Linked DNA regions of Homo sapiens: regions 1 and 2 are each linked to region 3. Evidence: promoter capture Hi-C in 16 types of primary human blood cells and fetal thymus (Javierre and others, 2016). All regions are on one chromosome and are shown on one strand. The core of a region is centred on a gene start or on the middle of the fragment in contact, and the rest is flanking DNA. Distances in the headings are between cores, read along the strand shown. Region 1 has its middle 51 kb from the start of LINC03147. Region 2 overlaps LINC03147 (long intergenic non-protein coding RNA 3147). Region 3 holds the start of BTG3 (BTG anti-proliferation factor 3).

Region 1 (2,787 bases), core at 273-2,772, 320 kb before region 3:
AACTGTATCTACTGCATTTCTTGTCCTCTCAATAAGTGTAACTTGAAATAGGAAAACAGAACCTTGCCTTTGTGTCCAAATAGGTCAGCAATCATCATTAACATTTAAGCGTTCTAGTACAGCAACAGAAATTGGGACAGTCTGTAGAAATGGCAGCGTTTTTGCACAAACATGGCAAAACCCAGTGGGGACTGTGGTGCCTAGTGGGATAAGGTGGTCGTAACAATAAATATCAGCCCCAGCAGTGGGGAACTACGTATTAATAAACCAAATGTAATGAAAATTTACTTTTCAAATTCGCAAATATTACAAATTTAATGAAAAGTATGTGGGGTGAGGGGAACTTGCCCAATACCAAATGAGAACAGAAGCCATTGTAACACAAGTTATACAAAGTTTAGGAACTTGCCCAGTAGACTTTTGATCTCTATAAACACATCAAAGACAGGTACCTTGTTTTCTTTATCTTTGTATCCTTGGCCCTTAACATAGCACCTGGCACATATTCAGCATGAAATAATGATTAAGTAACTGACAGATGAATTAAATGAGATGACAAAATTTTATTAAAAACTATAGATAACTTTTTCACCAATAAAAGTTATTTGAAAAAGCCTATCAAAGTGAAAAAAATGAGAAGGTAGAAAAATTATCCAAAAATTAATATCATAGTTTATAAAGAGCCAAGTGTAAAAAAGAAATCTAGGCTCCAGTGGTTAAAGAGATGAATTTCAAGCTAGTGTGAAGATCATCAGAACCACAGGAATATAAAATGTATCTGTGAAAAGACACTGTATTTTTATGAAGAAACAATGAGAACAGATTAAAGAGAACTATAAGTATGACCTGTGCAAATAACCTAATCTGTAAGAATCACAAACCTGGATCACCCTCAACGTGAGCTTTCTCTGCCTGTTCACTGTGAGCTTGATCTGCCTGTTCCCAGGACACTGAACACTACTGAGAGAAGACAGAGGATTATTCAGAATTGGAGCATTATGAATTCATACAGTCTAACTTCAAACGGGCCCTCTGTGTTTGGCAATCCTGTAATCACAACCAGGTATTCTCCTCTCTGTGGCAATTTCAAAACTTCTCTTTTCTCTGCTCTCACCTGCCCCTCTCCTTCTGTCCCACTTAGCAGATAACTTCACTGACTTTAGTGGAAAACTGATGCTCTGGGATCATCAAGATCTTGAACTTTACCAGTGTCTGATTTCATCTCAGTGCATATCCATTTCTACATTTATCCTCTTCCTCCTAATTTTTTTTTTTTTTTTTTTGAGATGGAGTCTCACCCTGTCACCCAGGCTGGAGTGCAATGGCACAATCTCAGGATCTCGGCTCACTGCAACCTCTGCCTCCAGGGTTCAAGTGATTCTCCTGCCTCAGCCTCCTGAGTAGCTGGGATTACAGAAGCCCACCACCACGCCCAGCTAATTTTTGTATTTTTAGTAGAGAAAGAGATTCACCATGTTGGCCAGGCTGGTCTCAAACTCCTGACCTCATGATCTGCCCGCCTCAGCCTCCCACGTTGCCGAGATTAAAGGCGTGAGCCACCACGCCCGGCCCTTCCTTCTAAAATTTTAATAGATATTTACTCTCCTTTCTCCAAAGATTACCCCTCCGTGTATGTTCTCAGTCACATCCCTTCCTAATTTCTGTGGACCTTAGAACTCATATTTTACCACTTATGTCCACGGCATCTTTCCTGCACTGCTGGATTCCTATATGTTTTTATTATTTTAAGTATGCAAATGTATAGCCAAACTTTAAAACAAAACATAATGAAACAACAGCTTTCCATTGGATCTGTTTCACATTCTAAGTACTATGAAATTTCTCTAAACTACCACATTTTCCAAATGGACTCTTTCTGATGATTCTTTTTTTTTTTTTTAACATCATCTTATACTATCTTTAATTTCATAAAAAGGATTTAAGGGTCTCTCTCCCACCTATTAAAAATCTACCTTCCACACTTGTTTCCACCCTTGCTTCCTCATTTTGATGATTTATTTTCTCAAACCAAAATCATTAAGGTTATGTCACAGTTTCTTCTAAATCTTTGTACCTCGTAACCCATCAGTCACCAAGGTCTTTCAAGCCTTCCTTCCCAATGACTTTTAGATTTTGCTCCTGTCCTTCATTGCCTGAATCCTTAGCCCTTTATGCCTGGGATACTGAAATTGCCTGCCAACCAGTGTTATAAGGTAGAAAATGCTACATTAATAAGTTCCACAAAAATCTTCCTGGCTAACAATAAGAAAGTTCTATTTCTACGATATGATAATGAGTTGTCAGAAGACTCTGCTTCATGTTTCTTCACCCTGCAATTCAAGCTGATAAAGCAGCCCCTGTCTAAAAAATTGCCAGGCTCACAGAAAGGGGAAAAGAAAGCATGGCAAACTGCAATTCAGAGCTTAACACCTTGCTTAGATGTGGCACTCATCACTTTTTATTGCTTTCAAATAGTGTATGCACTCCTGTCTTCGTGCTCTTCTCTCTATCCCTTACATCACCTCAATCAGCACCCATCACTTCTTCAAAACCTACACACTCTTCAACATCCTCAGAAGATACAATCTTTCTCTGCATATATTCCAAATCTCTCTCCAATCCTTTCTTTCCTAATTATTCTCCATGCTACACTCTTTAGAGATTTAATATATCAGGATACACTGCTGGTATAGATATTTCTACTTTGTGCATCAATTATGTCATCTATATATCTAATTTATCCAACTATATTGAATGTATTTTGTTAAAAAAGATAATTCTTGACAT
Region 2 (2,700 bases), core at 132-2,631, 270 kb before region 3:
GAAACCCCGTCTCTACTAAAAATACAAAAAAATTAGCCGGGCGTGGTGGCGTCCGTGTGCCTGTAATTCCAGCTATTCGGAAGGCTGAGGCAGGAGAATCGCTTTTGAACCCGGGAGGCGGAGGTTGCAGTGAGCCGAGATCACGCCACTGCACTCCAGCCTGGGCGACAGAGCGAGACTCCGTCTCAAAAAAAAAAAAAGAAAGCCATTCTCTAGCGTATTCTTTATAAATTTTGCCCAAAGATTATTATTATGCTCTATTCTTTTTAAGTGGTAGTTTAAAATGATTACATTTCAAATGTCTCAACAGTATTTTGATTATTTTATTCAGTTGATATTCAAAGATTAAGCTGAAGAATACAATCTTGATTTTATAGATGAAGAAAGACTTTTAGGCCATGACCAAGATTGTGAGGGCTGGTCTTATAAATACGTGGTATGACATGAGGATTCTAGAAAGTTCCACCTGCCCAAATATATTTCATCTACTTGCCAGGGCACCAAGGATGCTTTACTAAAAATTCATAGCTTTCAATTTCAAACATTTGTTGACCATCATTAATCCTATACTAAAGTGCCAATATCCCTGCAAGGGATCTTGTAATGTCTACATTAAAAGTCATTAACAAAGAATAACTTTCAACAGCATTTCCCAACAGGTATCTGATACATGACTAAGGGGTTCCATGATCAAATATGATGAAGAAATACTGAACATTATTTTTCTCTCTTACAGAGTCACAATATATATTAGCATATAAAAAACTCTGAAGAGTTCAACGATTATTTTTTAAAGGAATTTTAAACTTTTCAAAACTCAGCAAGTCCAAAACTCTTAACTCTTAGGGCTCCAATGGCATTTATGACTGCTATGAGAATTATAATAACAGCTAGCTGAGAGCAAGATGCCAAAATTAAACAAAAGACCGCCAACTGTATTGGAGCCAGAAAGGGGCACTCAAATGGCTAAGAAACTGCTGATAGTGAAGATGAACGTTTCCCAAGGAAAAACTGGATTTGTTCAACTCTTTTTCTTGGACTGGTTCTTGGAATTTTATCTATGGATAAAATTCATCTTGTCTAGGCAGCTTCGTTTCGTCAGAGCCAAGTCCCCACATAATCGCATCCATTGAGATGCATTTTAAGGTTATATCACTATTATCTAAAGACAACACAAGAAGTCGTCATATAGATTCCATTCATGTGCTTGCTATTTGGAAGAAGTCAAGCATGTTGTCTATTATCTTGTTCAGTGCCCCTTATATAAAGCACCACATTGAAAATGCTTTTCAGAACTTAGTGCTAAAAACAAACAGTTTTGCCTTCCCTGAGGAACTGAAATCCTCTTTCCTTTCTGAAAAAGAGCAATAGGTCTTTCTGCTTGCTTTGATTGCCAGGAAACCCAAAGCCTAATGTCAGCACAAGTATAATAACCACATAGGCCTTTACGGTCTGAAAGATTTTTTCTTTCTTTCTTGCTATTTGCTTTTTTTTTTTTTTTTTTTTTGAGAAAGATCTCCCTCTGTCACTCAAGCCGGAGTGCAGTGGAGCGATCTTGACTCACTGAAGCCTCACCTGTTGGACTCAAGCAATCACCCCACCTTAGCCTCCCGAGTAGCTGGGACTACAGGTGTGCACCACCACATCTGGCTAATTTTTGTATTTTTGTAGTGACAGGGTTTCTCCATAGTGCCCAGGCTGGTCTTGAACTCCTGAGCTCAAGTGATCCACCCACCTTGGCCTCCCAAAGTGCTGGAATTACAGGTGTGAGCCACCACGCTGGGCCAAAAGTTTTTTCTTGACTCCGTACTCTTATTAATGCCTCCTTTGGTCATGACTGAGTTTCTCAGTCTCCATTTGTTTGTTGTGTGTGCTTGTCATAAATCATTGCAATCCCATTCAGAAAGGTGAGGGAGGATAGGTGAGAAGATGGAAAGATTATAAAAGACAAACAGAGGCCAGGCGCGGTGGCTCACGCCTGTAATCCCAGCGCTATGGGAGGCCAAGGCGGGCAGATCACAAGGTCAGGAGATCGAGACCATCCTGGCTAACATGGTGAAACCCTGTCTCTACTAAAAATACAAAAAAATTAGCCAGGCATAGTGGCAGGCACCTGTAGTCCCAGTTACTCAGGAGGCTGAGGCAGGAGAATGGCATGAATCAGGTAGGTAGAGCTGGCAGTGAGCCCAGATTGTGCCACTGCACTCCAGCCTGGGCAACAAAGCGAGACTCCATCTCTGAAAAAAAAAAAAAAAAGACAAACAGAAATGACTGGCTCCTGTATCTGTATGTAACACACCACCAGTACCTTACATGGGGCCTGGTATATCGTTGACACCTAATAATTTTTTTTTTATTATACTTTAAGTTCTGGGATACATGTGCAGAATGTGCAGGTTTGTTATACAGGTCTACACATGCCATGGTGGTTTGTTGCACCCATCAACCCGTCATCTACATTAGGTATTTCCCCTAATGCTATCCCTCCCCTAGCTCCTGACCCCCTAACAGGCCCCCCGTGTGTGATGCTCTTCTCCCGGTGTCCATGTGTTCTCATTGTTCAACTCCCACTTATGAGAACATGCAGACACCTAATAATTTTTAATATTTCTAAGTGAAGAAGTGTTCTTGATAATATTTACCTCATAGCTGGGCACAGTGGCTCATGCCTGCAATCCCTAATAATCAGGCAGCTATACT
Region 3 (2,841 bases), core at 263-2,762:
GTATTTTTTGAATATGGTACTGCTCTAAGACTGGAAAATGTGGACCACAGATTTATAAATACTACACAAAATACTAATCCTAAACTATAGAAATTTCTGGACAAATTTTGAGTAATGTGGGTGGTTACCTAGCTATTTTATGAAACTGCAGAATTAAAGGCCTTTATCTGTAAAAATAACCTCATCAGATTGTTATGATTTTAAAATAAAAACACCTTCACACCTCCTAGAAGACTCCAAGGTGTAAATATCCTCTTTAAATGTACCAGTAAGTAGACTAAGTCCTAGAAGAGTATAATTTTTTTTTTTTACAAATAAAGTTTATTGTACTGTTTGGGGGATGGTATATTTATTACTGCTAAAAAAATTACCATTTTGAATTGCTAATTGGCTATAACAAAGATCAGTAATACAAATTTAAAACATTCATAAAACTGAGCTGAAAACATGCTCCCAAGCCTAGTGGGCAGTAAGGAATCTGGCCAATATACTGTACAACTTGAACATTCAGTTCTTAAGTAGTTTACAACATGGTTTAGCCCTCTTTTAATAATAATAATAAAAAGGTAGGAATATCTTGTATTCCTCCCGCTAGTTGGATGTATTAAAGTGCTTTCACAAAACTAAGACCATGGTGTTAACTCAATATAAAAGGTTGAAAAGATGTTCCTTCTTTTCTTCAGAAAGTTAATGTTCCCTCTCCATATTTGTATTTGCTCAAAGATGAAGCTTTGCATCTGGGAAGTCCTTGAGTAGAGTGTCTCAGAAATAGAAAGCCTGGACTCTCAAGGCTTCATTCCTTTGGCCAACATCTTTGGAGCCTCTCCTTTATGCAAAACACAGTGGCCGGTGCCAGGGCAGCACACAAGCGTCCACAGGAGGCAGGCCCTGCTGTGAGGGGCCAGGGAAGGGCCCAACTAGGAGTGCCAACAACCGCCTAAAATACAGCAGGGCGGCTGCACGGTTAACGTGCGTGTAATTGACTACAGCAAGAAGGATGAGGATCTGTCCATAAATGCCAAGTTCCCCTTCCCGTCGAGTCCGTGTCCCCCATGAAGCCCCGGGTCTAGAGAGCTGGGTCTAGAACTCGCCATTCCGCCCTGAGGGTGTCAAGTGCAGCGTGGAGAGACCTGAGGGGGAAACAAAAAGGCCGAGACAGCCGAAAGGACCAAGCCCGCGCGACCCCCGAAGGCGCTGACGCACGTAGGGCGGCCGGGCGGGGGTCCCACAGGCCTTCAGCGCCGCTTTTTGCCGGGGAGGGAAGCCCGCGGTTCTGCGGACCGCGCCGTCGCGGTCGAGGGTCTGCGCCAGGCTCAGGGTAGGGCGAGGGTGTGTCGCCTCCCGTGCGGCTAGGCCCGGGGCTCGGGGGTGGCCTCGCGGCGAAGCCCCGCCCCCGGCACCGCCCCTCAGGCGCGCGAGCCGATCCCGCGCGCGCCAACCCTTTCCCGGGTCATCGCCCCTCCCCTCTTCCGGGCCGCGAGCCCCCTGCGCGCCGCTTTGGGGCTGCGCTCACTCGTGTGCGCGCTCGTCCGCCCGCCAGTCCTCTCAACGCGCGCTTGGCCGCCCGACGACGCGGGAGCCGCACGCGCCGGACGAGGCTCGCTGCGCTCCCTGTTGCCCAGCGCGGGCCCGTTGAGGCGGAGCCCTCAGTTCCCGGCCAGGACACGGTCTGGGCCGCCGAATCTCCGGCCGAAGAGCGGCGGCGGCAGCGGCGGTGAGGAGACCGGGCCGGGGAAAGGCAGACATGGCGGGGCTGTGGGTATCGGGGGAGGGTGGTCCCGTCGCCCCTGCGGCCACGTCGAAGGCTCGCTGGCGGGCGGCGCACCGGGGACAGGGGAGGGGCAGGGGATGGAACCAGGTTGCATGGGCTCCGGCTCGGCGCCAGAGCGGGGCTGCGGGCCGCGAGGGCGGCCCGCGAGGCTTTCCGCGGGACCCTCGGCGGGCGCCTGAGGAAAAAGACGCCGCCTCAGGGCTCCTGCCACGTTTCCCACAGCGCGTTACATTCCGCCTCCGGGTGGGCGACAACCCCGCGGCTTCCCACCCTCTGTCCACCCCCTTCGCGTCGGTGTTTTTTCTGGAGCTCCGCTTGTTTGCTGGAGAGTCGCGCCTCCGGGAAGCCGGGTCCTCGAACCCAGGGCCGCCCGCCGGGGACAGCGGACCCGCGGGGCAGGCGCACCCTGGCGAGGATGTTGTCGGGGAGGCTGGGCATTGGGCGCCAGGGCCCTTCCCCTTGAACTTGGGGAAAACCGGGATTGCAGAAGTTGGGCGCAGCTCAAGGCGGTTCTTTCAAGAGCGGGTGGAGATGTTTGATCCCTCCTCACCTACCTCTCTCAAAACCCCAGCGGGAGAGCCTAGCAGCAGGTTTCGATGGCTTCAGAAAGTCCAACTCTTAGCCCCTTGGAAAATTATTTCCCCTCTTCATGGCTTTGTGGCGCCGCTGAGGTCGGGCCGGGGCTCCTCACCCCACGGGCCAGTCTTCTCGCGCCCTCCACCTTGGGAACGTCTATCAGGAGAAAAATGTGTTCCTAGAAACGTTTGCGATTAGCTTTTCGTTACAAGGGAGGGAAAAGTACAAAAGTTATAAACTCCTGCGAGGCCGAGCTTGATTCTGGATTCCCTTTGGGTTTTATCCACGCAGCCGTGAGCAGAGGAGCCTTGTGGAACAAAGTAGAACTTGAGGAGCAGCCGCCGCGGTGACGAGGTCCCAGGATGACGTCACCGTGCGATATTTAAAATGGGAGCCTTTTGCTCTGAGTGTGGGTGGAGGACGCCTACTTACTCAAGACGCCTGAGGTCTTCTTGGCCCTGCTTGCCTCTGGTGGTTCTTGCCCTGACTGTAAC

What was found. The method cuts DNA at HindIII sites, captures the fragments that hold promoters and counts their contacts. A CHiCAGO score of 5 or more calls a contact.
Region 1: a contact is called between a fragment that was not itself captured here and the fragment with the promoter of BTG3 in region 3, in 2 of 17 cell types (activated CD4 T cells and total B cells). The highest score is 6.0, in activated CD4 T cells.
Region 2: a contact is called between a fragment that was not itself captured here and the fragment with the promoter of BTG3 in region 3, in 2 of 17 cell types (activated CD4 T cells and non-activated CD4 T cells). The highest score is 6.8, in activated CD4 T cells.

Annotation. Positions count from the first base shown.
Region 1 is chr21:17,935,578-17,938,364 of GRCh38, reverse strand. It overlaps a transcript of CHODL not described here. Among named protein-coding and RNA genes, the nearest start is that of LINC03147, 51 kb to the right of the region's middle. The HindIII fragment of the contact is 4,723 bases long and covers 1-2,787 here.
Region 2 is chr21:17,881,741-17,884,440 of GRCh38, reverse strand. All of the region lies in intron 1 of LINC03147 (long intergenic non-protein coding RNA 3147), which reads left to right. All of the region lies in intron 2 of LOC124900465 (a long non-coding RNA gene), which reads right to left. Among named protein-coding and RNA genes, the nearest start is that of LINC03147, 2.5 kb to the left of the region's middle. The HindIII fragment of the contact is 6,627 bases long and covers 1-2,700 here.
Region 3 is chr21:17,611,572-17,614,412 of GRCh38, reverse strand. It overlaps BTG3 (BTG anti-proliferation factor 3), which reads left to right and starts at 1,512. Exons shown (of 5, transcript NM_006806.5): 1 at 1,512-1,714. BTG3-AS1 (BTG3 antisense RNA 1) reads right to left here and starts at 2,727. Exons shown (of 1, transcript NR_149073.1): 1 at 299-2,727. It also overlaps a transcript of CXADR not described here. The HindIII fragment of the contact is 7,083 bases long and covers 732-2,841 here.